Linked DNA regions of Homo sapiens: all the other regions are linked to region 2. The links are contacts of gene promoters, found by promoter capture Hi-C in human tissues and cell types (Jung and others, 2019). All regions are on one chromosome and are shown on one strand. The core of a region is centred on a gene start or on the middle of the fragment in contact, and the rest is flanking DNA. Distances in the headings are between cores, read along the strand shown. Region 1 has its middle 3.5 kb from the start of LINC01855. Region 2 holds the start of CHERP (calcium homeostasis endoplasmic reticulum protein). Region 3 overlaps TPM4 (tropomyosin 4). Region 4 overlaps RAB8A (RAB8A, member RAS oncogene family).

What was found. The method cuts DNA at HindIII sites, captures the fragments that hold promoters and counts their contacts. A contact is called where the count stands out against the background at its distance.
Region 1: a contact is called between a fragment that was not itself captured here and the fragment with the promoter of CHERP in region 2, in 1 of the 25 tissues and cell types used here (pancreas).
Region 3: a fragment that was not itself captured here is called in contact with the fragment with the promoter of CHERP in region 2 in 1 of the 25 tissues and cell types used here (dorsolateral prefrontal cortex).
Region 4: a fragment that was not itself captured here is called in contact with the fragment with the promoter of CHERP in region 2 in 1 of the 25 tissues and cell types used here (spleen).

The regions. Positions count from the first base shown.
Region 1 is chr19:16,060,825-16,063,524 of GRCh38, reverse strand. No RefSeq gene overlaps it. Among named protein-coding and RNA genes, the nearest start is that of LINC01855, 3.5 kb to the left of the region's middle. The HindIII fragment of the contact is 9,039 bases long and covers 1-2,700 here.
Region 2 is chr19:16,541,155-16,543,854 of GRCh38, reverse strand. CHERP (calcium homeostasis endoplasmic reticulum protein) reads left to right here and starts at 1,418. Exons shown (of 17, transcript NM_006387.6): 1 at 1,418-1,501; 2 at 1,812-1,985. The coding sequence starts at 1,477. RefSeq lists silencers at 1,517-1,706, 1,717-1,786. The HindIII fragment of the contact is 9,580 bases long and covers 1-2,700 here.
Region 3 is chr19:16,086,538-16,089,237 of GRCh38, reverse strand. TPM4 (tropomyosin 4) reads right to left here. Exons shown (of 8, transcript NM_003290.3): 3 at 2,698-2,700; 4 at 1,141-1,211; 5 at 118-193. Among named protein-coding and RNA genes, the nearest start is that of TPM4, 11 kb to the right of the region's middle. The HindIII fragment of the contact is 7,259 bases long and covers 1-2,700 here.
Region 4 is chr19:16,124,198-16,126,897 of GRCh38, reverse strand. It overlaps RAB8A (RAB8A, member RAS oncogene family), which reads right to left. Exons shown (of 8, transcript NM_005370.5): 4 at 1,351-1,428. HSH2D-AS1 (HSH2D and RAB8A antisense RNA 1) reads left to right here. Exons shown (of 2, transcript NR_199156.1): 2 at 1-2,700. Among named protein-coding and RNA genes, the nearest start is that of RAB8A, 14 kb to the right of the region's middle. The HindIII fragment of the contact is 7,709 bases long and covers 1-2,700 here.

The DNA of each region.
Region 1 (2,700 bases), core at 164-2,663, 480 kb after region 2:
CTTTCTTTCTTTCCTTCCTTCCTTCCTTCCTTCCTTCCTTCCTTCTTTCTTTCTTTCTTTCCTTCTTTCCTTCTTTCCTTCTTTCCTTTCTTTCCTTCTTTCCTTCTTTTCTTTCTTTCTCGAGACAAGGTCTCACTCTGTTGCCCAGGCTGGAGTGCAGTGGCACAATCGTGGCTCACTACAGCCTAGATCCCCCAGCTTCAATTGATCCTCCCACCTCAGCCCGCTGAGTAGCTAGGACTACGGGCATGTGCCACTATGCCTGGATACTTTTTTGTTTTTGTAGAGGTGGCGTCTTGCTATGTTGCCCAGGCTGGTCTTGAACTCCTGGGTTCAAGTGATCTTCCTGCCTTGGCCTCCCAAACTATTGGGATTACAGGCATGAGCCCCTGTGCCTGGCCTGCCGTGAGCTATTATTGCACCACTGCACTTCAGCCTGGGCATCAGATACCCCATCTCTTAAAAAATGCAAGGACAAATAGTTTATTTGGGAAGTGACCCAAGGAGATACAAGTAGAGGATGGGAAGTGAAATAGGGAAAAGAAAGTAACCATTAAGCATGCATTATGAAACCAGTTACTGCCATGGACAAATAGGGTGCAGTCCCACTGAGGGCCTCTGGAGGCAGCAGAGAGCATGCTCTTTGGAGTTGTCCCAGCTGAGGGGCGAAGGAGCTGGGGTATTTATCCACCAATTCCATGCTGCTGTTGATTGAAGGCTGCTCTTAGGGGCTGTTGATTGTGCTGATCTGCCCTTGTATGGGTCACACTCACTTCAGCAGCTGGAGGAAGACCGCCTCTCCCCCTAGCAGAGAGATGAAGCTGCTAGAAGTACCCCTTGGTGTGGAGAGAAACAGTAGGAACCCAGTGGATCTGGGCAGGCACCCAGAGTGTGAGCTAAATTTTTTTTTTTTTTTGAGATAGTCTTGCTCTGTCCTGCACTCCCAGGCTGGAGTGCAGTGGCACGATCTCGGCTCACTGCAACCTCCGCCTCCCAGGTTCAAGCAATTCTCGTGCCTCAGCCTCCCAAGTAGCTGGGATTACAGGCATGCACCACCACACCTGGCTACTTTTTGTATTTTTGCAAAGACAGGGTTTCACCATGTTGGCCAGGCTGGTCTCGAACTCCTGACCTCAGGTGGTCTGCCCACCTCGGCCTCCCAGAGTGCTGGGATTACAGGCATGAGTCACCACGCCCAGCCTAAAAATGTTAATGCATGCAAAATGCAGGCACCTGATTAGTCTTGGGTGGAAGTCAGGAAAAAGCCTCCCTGAGGAAGTGGCAATTGAGGGAGGCCTGAACGGTGGTGATGGGGTCTATGCGAAGGTCATAGGAGGAAGGGACTGAGGGCAGGTGAGAGTGTCTGCCGTTGAATGCAGAGGTGAGGATGTGGTGTGGTGTGGTGTGGTGGGTGGTGAGGCTGCAGAGATCAAACAACAGAAGAGAGGATGGGGACTGCCCCCAAATGTGTCTCCTGCAGTTTGAGACATGCAAAGAGACCAAGGCAACAGGTGAGTTTACTGAGTTCCAATAGAAAAGAGCAAAAATGTTCTCAGCTTGCACTCTATGGAGTTTCATTTCATGGGGTACAATAGAGTAATAAGATGACAAGGATGACAATAAAAATGACCCTGAAGCTGGGTGCAGTGGCTCACGCCTGTAGTCGCAGCACTTTGGGAGGCAAAGGTGGGAGAATTGCTTGAGCCCAGGAGTTCAAGATCATCCTGAGCAACAGAGCGATACCCCATCTCTACAAAAAATTTAAAAATTAGCTGGGTGTGGTGGCATGCATCTGTAGTCCCAGCTACTCCAGAGGCTGAGGCAGGAGGATCACTTGAGCCCAGGAGTTTGAGTCTGCAGTGAGCCATGCTGGTACCACTGCACTCCAGCCTGGGCAACAGAGTGAGACTCTATCTCTTAATAAAAAAAGAGTTTCTAGACCAGGTGTAGTGGCTCACACCTGTAATCCTGGTACTTTGAGAGGCCAAGGGGTTGGATCCCTTGAGGCTAGAAGTTCGAGACCAGCCTGGCCAACATGGTGACATCCCGTCCCTACTAAAAATACAAAAAAATTAGCCGGGCATAGGTGATGCACACCTGTAATCCCAGGTACTTGGGAAGCTGACAAGTATTGCTTGAACCCGGGAGGTAGAGGTTGCAATGAGCTGAGATTGCACCACTGCACTCCTGCCTGGGCTACAGAGCAAGATCCTGTTTAAAAAAAAAAAAAATTATCCGGGAAGGGGCAAACCATTGGTGGGGCGGGCAAGGAGAAAAGGGCTCTAAGTCCTCCCCAAAGTCTCTGAGCCACACTCCGAGGGAACTGTGTGGGTTAGAGAGCTTGGCCATTAATCCCGTAAAACAGGCATGACCACAAGCTTGGTGGCATCGTCACGATAATTAATAATAATTATAGTTAACACTGACATGTCTTTAATGTGTCCATGCTGTTCTACGTGCCTTGCACACATCAGCTCACTTAATTTTCACAATAACCTCGTGAGATAAGTGCTGCTGTCATTTCCATTTTATAAAAGGAGAAATTGAGGCACAGAGAGGTGAAGTAACTTGCTCAAGCCAGCACAGCTAAGAAGTGGTGGTGTTGGGAGTTGAACCAAGAGTGGCTGACTCCGGATTCTACACATTGACCCACAAACTATAACCTGAGCAGCCTCCCCTATTCAACCTCCTACCTGAGTT
Region 2 (2,700 bases), core at 169-2,668:
GTGGTGCGCACCTGTAGTCCCAGCTCCCCTGGAGGCTGAGGCAGGAGAATTGCTTGAGCACGGGAGGCAGAGGTTGCAGTGAACCGAGATCACACCACTGCACTCCAGCTTGGGCGAGAGAGAGCAAGACTGTGTCTCAAAAAAAAAAAAAAACCAAACAATTAAGATCCTCGATCTTCATGAGAAAATATGAACTAGAGGACATTTAGAAAAAAAAAAATCCTTGATCTTGCCTCCTGACCTGCAGAGTCTAAAATATTTGCTTTCTGTCCCTTTTATACAAAAAGTTTTGTTGATTCCTAGCCTACAGCAACACTTGATGTAGAGTTGTCAATCCATAAGCATCTGGTGGAAAAATGCTGTTAACAATAAAAATGAAACTAATCTAAAATACATGTGCATTTATTTGCACAGAAAAAAACAGGCTGGGTAAAGTAGCTCATGCCTATAATCCTAGCACTTTGGGAGGCCGAGGCGGGAGGATTACTTGAGCACAGGAGTTCAGGGCTAGTGAGCTATGATCATGACACTGCACTCCAGCGTGGGCCACAGAGCAAGACCTTGTCTCAAGAAAAAAGAAAAAAAAAAACGGATAAAGGAAAAAAAAGCGGCGGGGGCGGGGGGCAGGTATAGCCAACTAAGCATTAACCATCTCAAGAGGATCAGTTTATATCGGACGTCCACAGCAGAAATTTGCTGCTTCTGGCTATCTTTTCCCCACAATTAGCAAGGGTTAGCTTCATTATTTTAGAGGCAACCCAACTGCAGCTTTTAGAAAGGCGCTGTGCCCTCTAGGCCAGCAATTTGAGGGCATGGGTTGGGGGGTACCCCGCCCCAGTCTTCCTGACCAAAGAGTGGAGCGGAAGAAAGCCAGGAGGAGGATGTTTTGAACCTAAATACGTCCAGCTGCAATCCCAGTCAAGCTCGTCGCCCCCAGTTCTGCTCCACCTCCGGTCTGGCCGGGGAGAATGTGACAGTCGCCGCAGCCCGGGATCCACCCGGACGCACCTCACCTCGCAGTCTCCTCACTGTGCCCGCGAAAGGAAAGAGACCCTGGCCCAGGCACGAAGTCCCCAGGCCCCTGGTCGCCCGGAGGTAGCAACCAGCCAGCCCATCGGGCTGCGACGCCGACCAAGGGGCACGCCCCGCGCCCCCCGGTCTCGACTAACACCCACCCGCGCCGTTCCAGCCTTTCCGCGGCGCCGCGCGACGGGGACCCACTCTGCGAAAGTGTCAGGAAACTTCTGCGCGTGCGCGTCGCTAGCCCCTCCCGCGCGCCAGGCATCGCGCGGCTTCTTCCCGCCTGCCTCCCGCTCTCACTTCCGGAGTTTCCCAGCGACGGCCGTAAGTGGCGGGCGGAAGCGGCCCTAGAAGCCCGCCGTAAACGGCTCCCTCGCGCCACTTCCGGCCGGCTTCCGCAGACGGCGCTGGTGGTCGATCGTGTGGCGCCGGAGGACGTTCCCCGCGGCCGGAGCCATGGAGATGCCGCTGCCCCCCGATGGTGAGACCCAAACCGGCCGAGAGACCGTTTCTCTCTCCCCGGAACCTCCTATTGGCCGGCCCCGCCTCCCGGAGTCCCCGGGTCTGGGAGGGGGCGGGGCTCGGCCTCGCGGCTTCGCCTGCGGCCTCTCCCGTGGGTCCCCGCATTCCCGGCGAGCGTGTGGCCCCTATCGGGACCCGTACAAGGGCGGCCTCTTCGGGGCCCACCCCCTTGGGGTCCCCGGCAAGGCGGACGGGGGCTGGGGCGCCGAGTCCCCCGGCTTTGGGCGGTCCTCGCTGACGCCCCGCGTGGCCTTTTCTCCGTCCTCCAGACCAGGAGCTTCGAAATGTCATCGACAAGCTCGCCCAGTTCGTGGCTCGCAATGGGCCCGAGTTTGAGAAGATGACTATGGAGAAGCAGAAGGACAACCCCAAATTCTCGTTTCTTTTCGGAGGCGAATTCTACAGTTACTACAAGTGCAAGCTGGCGCTGGAGCAGCAGCAGCGTGAGTCCCCTCCGGCACTCAGGCCGTCCCATCGAGCGCTTCCTTTCTCGGATTCCAGTCCGGGCTCTGCCACAAACCTCTTTCTTTCGGGTCGTTTATTCTTTGAAGTGGAGCAGCTCGGTCCACACGATCCCTGTTCCGCTGTTCCCACGGCCCTGCACAGAGCGGCTGCTGGGTGCCACTGTAATGGAGAACAACGAGGTTTTCGATCCTCCCCCCTGGGCTCTGGATCAGGGATTTTGCTGTTGTTTTGCAGACTGATGACGGAGATTAGCAGGAGTAGCGTGATTGTTTTAGTGTTTTCTAGGGAGGAAGTGATAGAGGCCGGATGGGAGTCCATGGGACAGGCACTGTCCAGCCCCCTTTGCCGTCTCCCTGTGGGTCCAGCAAGGTTTTGTGCATTTCAGATGCCTGCAGCAGAAATCAAAAAGAATTATCCCTCTGAGTTTTAGTTATTGGCAAGTGTTTATCAATGTTCGTTCATTTAGGCAACAGGATTCCAGTCCTGCTCTAAAGAAGTTTAAAGTTAGGAAGCAGAGCTGGCCTTTGAATAATGGATAGTCACCAGGTGGTGCGGCTGCTCAGGGCAGGTATCACATCTGTCACGTTCAGTACCCAACCCCGTCTCTAGATTGTTTAAATGAATAACTAGGAGTTTGCCAGGTAGATGGACATTGAGAGGTGGTTGTCCGCTGTTTGATCGAACGCCAATTGT
Region 3 (2,700 bases), core at 33-2,532, 450 kb after region 2:
AACGCTACTGTTAAATAAAGGGCAGATTCCCCATAACCTGACAGGCTCCTGCATCCCTCGGGAGAAGAAAAGAACAAAGTCCAGCAAGCCACCCTCCAGCTCAAGCCAACCACCTACCTTTTCAGATGCAGCCTCCAGAGATTTCAGATTGTTAGTAACATTCTTGAGTTCTTCTTCCAGGTCACCACATTTTCTGCACAAAGACAAAGGATTTTTGTGTCTTATCTTCCCTTACAGCCGGCAATAATAGCAATCGCCCCAACAATAAATTTTCCAAAGGAGAAACCTACACAGCTCCCCCGGTGGGGGGCAGAAGGAATGTGGGGAGAAAATGTTAATGGATTTTTCTGCAGTGTGATACTATGGGCTTATCAAAGGCTTATCATACCAGGCAGAGGCGAGGTGCGCCCGAAGAGTATTTGGAGGGCTTGGAAAACACTCCTGGTCTTTTGCCAAGGGTAAGGCTGCAAGGACTTGTGAAATCTATGATTGATGAGGCCGACTCCGGAAGGTGTAAGAATGGGACTGAGGGCAGAAGGCGGGCAGAGAGCAATGGGAGTTTGCAGGGGACACTCCGGGAAGGAAGCCCGGAGTGGATTTGTGAAACCAGATCTCTCTCAGCACTCCCGGATGCTCTGTGGGGCTGAATTCCTCACCCGGGGCCAAGAGGACAGGTGTTTTGTTTTTCGGTGCTTGCTTGTGGGATTCTGGTTAAGCTTCTCACCTTCCCGCCAGGAATGTGTCACGGCCAAACACTGACAGGAGCAAAAGCATTTACATACTGACCGGGGGAGCCTGCCTTCTGGAGCAGGTCAGTGTTCTGTTAAGATGGCACAGCCCCCTGAGATATCCTCTCTGGGAAAATGGGACTTCTGGGCTTCCCTGCTGCCTCCTGTCTCACTCCTATTTCCTCATATCTTTGCAGAAAGGGTCAACACGTGGGCAGTGCTTCCCATGGCAGTAAGAACAAGTCACCACCTCTTTGTCACAGAAGCCAAGAGAAAAGATGAGCCATGAGCCCCTGACGCCCGTCCACTTGAGCAGAGACCCCGGTCAGAGCCAATTCCCAACACAGCCAGCTCCTTCCCACTCCGCCCCAGGAATCGAGCCAGCCTCGCTCAGTCCTGTTCTGCCACTCACAGTTCAGACACCTCCGCACGCTCCTCTGCCCTCTCCAGCTCACCCTCCAGGATGACCAGCTTACGAGCTACCTGCAGAGACAGAAAGGCCCAGCTGAGCCCGATCCCCACCAGCCGTGTCCTCTCCCATCCACTGCAGACAGCCCCCAATGATGCCCCACCCAGACCCCTAGACCAGCTGCAACATGGGTTTTTCTGGTGTTTCTTTTTTTTGCAGGGGGACGGAGTCTCCCTCTGTTGCCCAGGCTGGAGTGCAGTGGCACAGTCTCGGCTCACTGCAACCTCCACCTCCTGGGTTCAAGCGATTCTCCTGCCTCAGCCTTCCAAGTAGCTGGGACTACAGGCGCGTGCCACCACGCCCAGCTAATTTTTGTATTTTCAGTCGAGATGGGGTTTCACCGTAGTGGCCAGGCTGGTCTCGAATTCCTGACCTCCTGATCCACCTACCTCGGCCTCCCAGAGTGCTGGGATTATAGGCATGAGCCACCACACCTGGCCTCTTTTTTATTTTTTTATTCTTTTGAGACAGAGTCTCGCTCCATCACCCAGGCTGAAATGCAGTGGCTCAACCTTGACTCACTGCAACCTCTGCCTCCTGGGTTCAAGTGAATCTCCTGTCTCAGCCTTCCAAATAGCTGGGCTTACAGGCATGCACGACCATGCCCGGCTAATTTTTGTATTTTTTGTAGAGACAGGGTTTCACCACGTTGGCCAGGCTGGTCATGAACTCCTGACCTCAGGTGATCTGCCTGCCTTGGCCTCCCAAAGTGCTGGGATTACCGGCGTGAGCCACCATGCCCAGCCCTTTTATGTTTTTGACAGAGGGTCTTGCTCTGTCTCCAAGGCTGGAGTGCAGTGGCGTGGTCAGAGCTCACTGCAGCCTTGACTTCCCAGGTTCAAGCGATCCTCCTGCCTCAGCCTCCCAAGTAGCTGGGACTACAGGTGCATGCCACCACACCCAGCTAATTATTATTATTATTATTTTTAGAAATGGGGTCTCACTATGTTGCCCAGGCTGGTCTCAAACTCCTGGCCTCAGGTGATCCTCCCGCCTCGGTCGAAGTGCTGGGGTTACAGGTACGAGCCACCGCGCCTGGCCTTTTGCTGGCGCTTCAACTGAAAGAGCCATCCTGGGGCCTGGAGGAAATCCTGATTCTCTTCCTCAAGCCTGAGGAGCGAGGCAGACAAGAGGCGGGAGGGAAGAGCCGAGCCATCGAGGGAGGCAAAGGAGGGCCTGAGCTTGCATGGTCTGAAACTCCATGGCTTGGGACCACAATCCTCCATTTTTGCCCAACTGTGCCAAAACTCCCAGCTAACGACACAAGTGAGCTGATCATTCGGTTTTCCCATTACGTTAGACAAGCGTCCGCAGCACTTTCTGGCATCGTGGGAGATAGTTTCCTAGCCAAGTGGTTGTCTCTGGACAAACATATGTTCACGCAGGAGGACAGCTGACCTAACCGAGAGCTTCCTTTCGTTGGCCCCGGTGTCCTCCCTATCTCAGCAGATGCATTTCCTCCCACTTCCTGCTGCTGCGCCATCTGCCAGCCCCACTCACCTC
Region 4 (2,700 bases), core at 9-2,508, 420 kb after region 2:
CCTCCCGAATAGCTGAGATTACAGGCATCTGCCACCATACCAGGCTAATTTTTTGTATTTTTAGTAGAGACAGAGTTTCGCCATGTTGGCTAGGCTGGTCTCAAACTTCTGACCTCAGGTGATCTGCCCGCCTCAGCCTCCCAAACTGCTGGGATTACAGGCATAAGCCACCTCGCCTGGCCCTGACATTTCAACTATTTTTGGGCTCCAGAAACAGGCCGTGCCTGAGGTGGTCGCAACTCGAGGCCGTCACCAGCTGCAGGCACTTCACCACCCTGTCTGATGTTGCCCAAACTCTGCCCTCATACCCAAAGGCAGCTCCTTCGTCAAGTCTCCCTGGGTCCCCATGGAGCGGACCACGCTTCCTGGAGGACGGGGACACTGGAAACTGCTGTCTTCTTCCACCAGCTCAGACTTGGTCTCTGGAACCTACTGCGCCACTCCCTGCCTCACTTCCCATGAACCAGAAGGTGGCTCCTGCCCGCTGGCCAGAAACAGAGACCTTTCACAAAGACCAGGCTCTCCTCCTCTCCACGGATGAAGACAGCTTTCCCAGCTGGGGTGCAGCCCTGCACTGGCAAATTTGGCAGCACAGCCCTCTCAGGGTCACTGGGGAGGTGAGCCCAGTGCAATGACTCACAAATGATGGGGTGGCCTCTCGGCCTGGCCTGGGAGGTCCATGAGTCCTGGGTGGACAGTGATATGCCCTTTTGCTGTGGTTTTATAGATGGGAAAAGTTCTCTGGCTGTGCCTCAGACCTGAAGCCCCACATGGTTAGTTATAGAAAGCTGCAGGTGCCGGCAGCCAGGAAGGCTTTGGGGGTGAGGTCAGCTCTTTGGGGAGCAGAAGATGAAGATGCTGGCTTTGGGAGGGGAGGAGGGGTTGGCCTACTTCTCACTGCTCTATGGTTCAAGGTCTGAACACAGGTCGTTTGTACCAGGTCACACCCTGCTCCGATATAGCTCAAAGTACAACTGACGCCTGCTCACCACACCCTCCAACTACAAGGGTCACACCTGTGCTAGACCCTTCCTTCTCTAGAAAGCACCCAACACTCATGGTGACCACAAGCTTGGATATCCTTTCTCTTATAACCATGACACTGGCCAGATCCAACAGCCTAGCTGGAGGGATGGGCTCCGAGGGGCTCCGGGGTGGGGCCAGGCCAGTGTGTGGTCCCTGGGGCCGGCTGCTTGCATCTCAGTCCCTGCTCCCACCATGTCCCTGACTAGGAGGCTGTGGGCAAGTGGCCTGTATGTGTCTCTGCACCTTGGCCTTCTCATGAGTAAACCAGAGGGCTCTGGGACAAGGACTGAAGCAGGGACAGTGGGAGGAGCCGGAGGGCCTCACCTCCTCAATGTTGCGAATCCAGTTCCGGATGTTGTCGAAGGACTTCTCGTTGGTGATGTCGTAGACCAGCATGATGCCCTGCGCGGGGAGAGAAGACACAGGTGCCTGATCGGCTGCAGGCTCTGGAAGGGAGGCCTCAGCGGCACCAGAGAACAGTGGTGGGGAGCCCAGCACCCACTGCACAGCCAGGCCCATTAGCTGCCGCCCTCCCCACCTCTGTGGAGCCCCGGAAGCCAGCCCCCTCCTCTCCATCCCTGTGGCCCTTCTTTCTGCTGGGTTCTGGCACCAGCCTTGTCCTGCCCCCCGGGCCGCTGAGGTGACCCTTCTGCCTCACAGGCCAGCCCCTGCCACGCACTCGCTGACAAGCCCGGCTGGCTCCCCTCATGGCCCACGGGGTGGTGCAGCCTGACGGTGGGAGCCGGTCCACAGGCCCACTGCCAGCAGCACTCCCCTCACGCTGACCCTCCCCTGCAATCGGCCTCCTCTTCACCCCTTGCTCACCCCACGCTCTGCCTGAGCCACCTACCAGGCACAACTGAGCCCAGGAAGTCCTGACCCGACATCCACACAACTTCCAGTGACCCCACCACAGAGGGAACCGGCTGTGTGAAGATGGAGCCGAGAGTGCCAAGGCCCTTCCAGTTCCCTAACCTAGACGTGAGCAACTGGGAGACGGCTCGTGGGTCCTGGAAGAGCTTCGGGGCAGCCCCGCCTCAGCCTGGGTCCACAGCCTCGCTACTGCTGTGGACAAGCGCAAACATGCCCATGCGATGCAAGGGGAAACTGAGGCACAGAGACGTGACCTTTAAGATTCAAGCACGGGGGGCGGGGGGGGGCTAACTCCAAAAGCACTGATGACACCTATCCTCTCAGCAATATCCCTGGGCCTTTTTCAGCCCCAGAACCCACATGTGGGGGCCACCCTCTGACGGTCTGTGTGGTTCTCGATGTCCTTGTGGAGTGCCCACAGCGGGCCAGCCTGCAGTGCCATCACAAGTCCCCCTTTGTTGCCGGGCATCCTGGGCTCCAAGGCACGTGGCCTGCTCATGGCCAGGCCTGGATTTCTTCCTTCCTCCTCGCTACCTGCTCCCCAGGCCCAGCCCTGCATCTGTGGCACCTGAGGGCACTGATGACTTCTGCTGCTGGCCAAGTTGTCTGGGGCCATCCAAGTTTGCAGAATAAGGACACGGGCCATGTGGTAATGGTGAGACAGATGTGGGTGCAAGAGTGTGGGACAAAAACGACACAGATGGGGCAAGAAAGTCACTGCAACCCCAAATCCTCCTGGGAATTCAGGGACATGAATAATGGCCTCACAGTCAGCCGCAACCATGGCGAAGAACCTCAAGG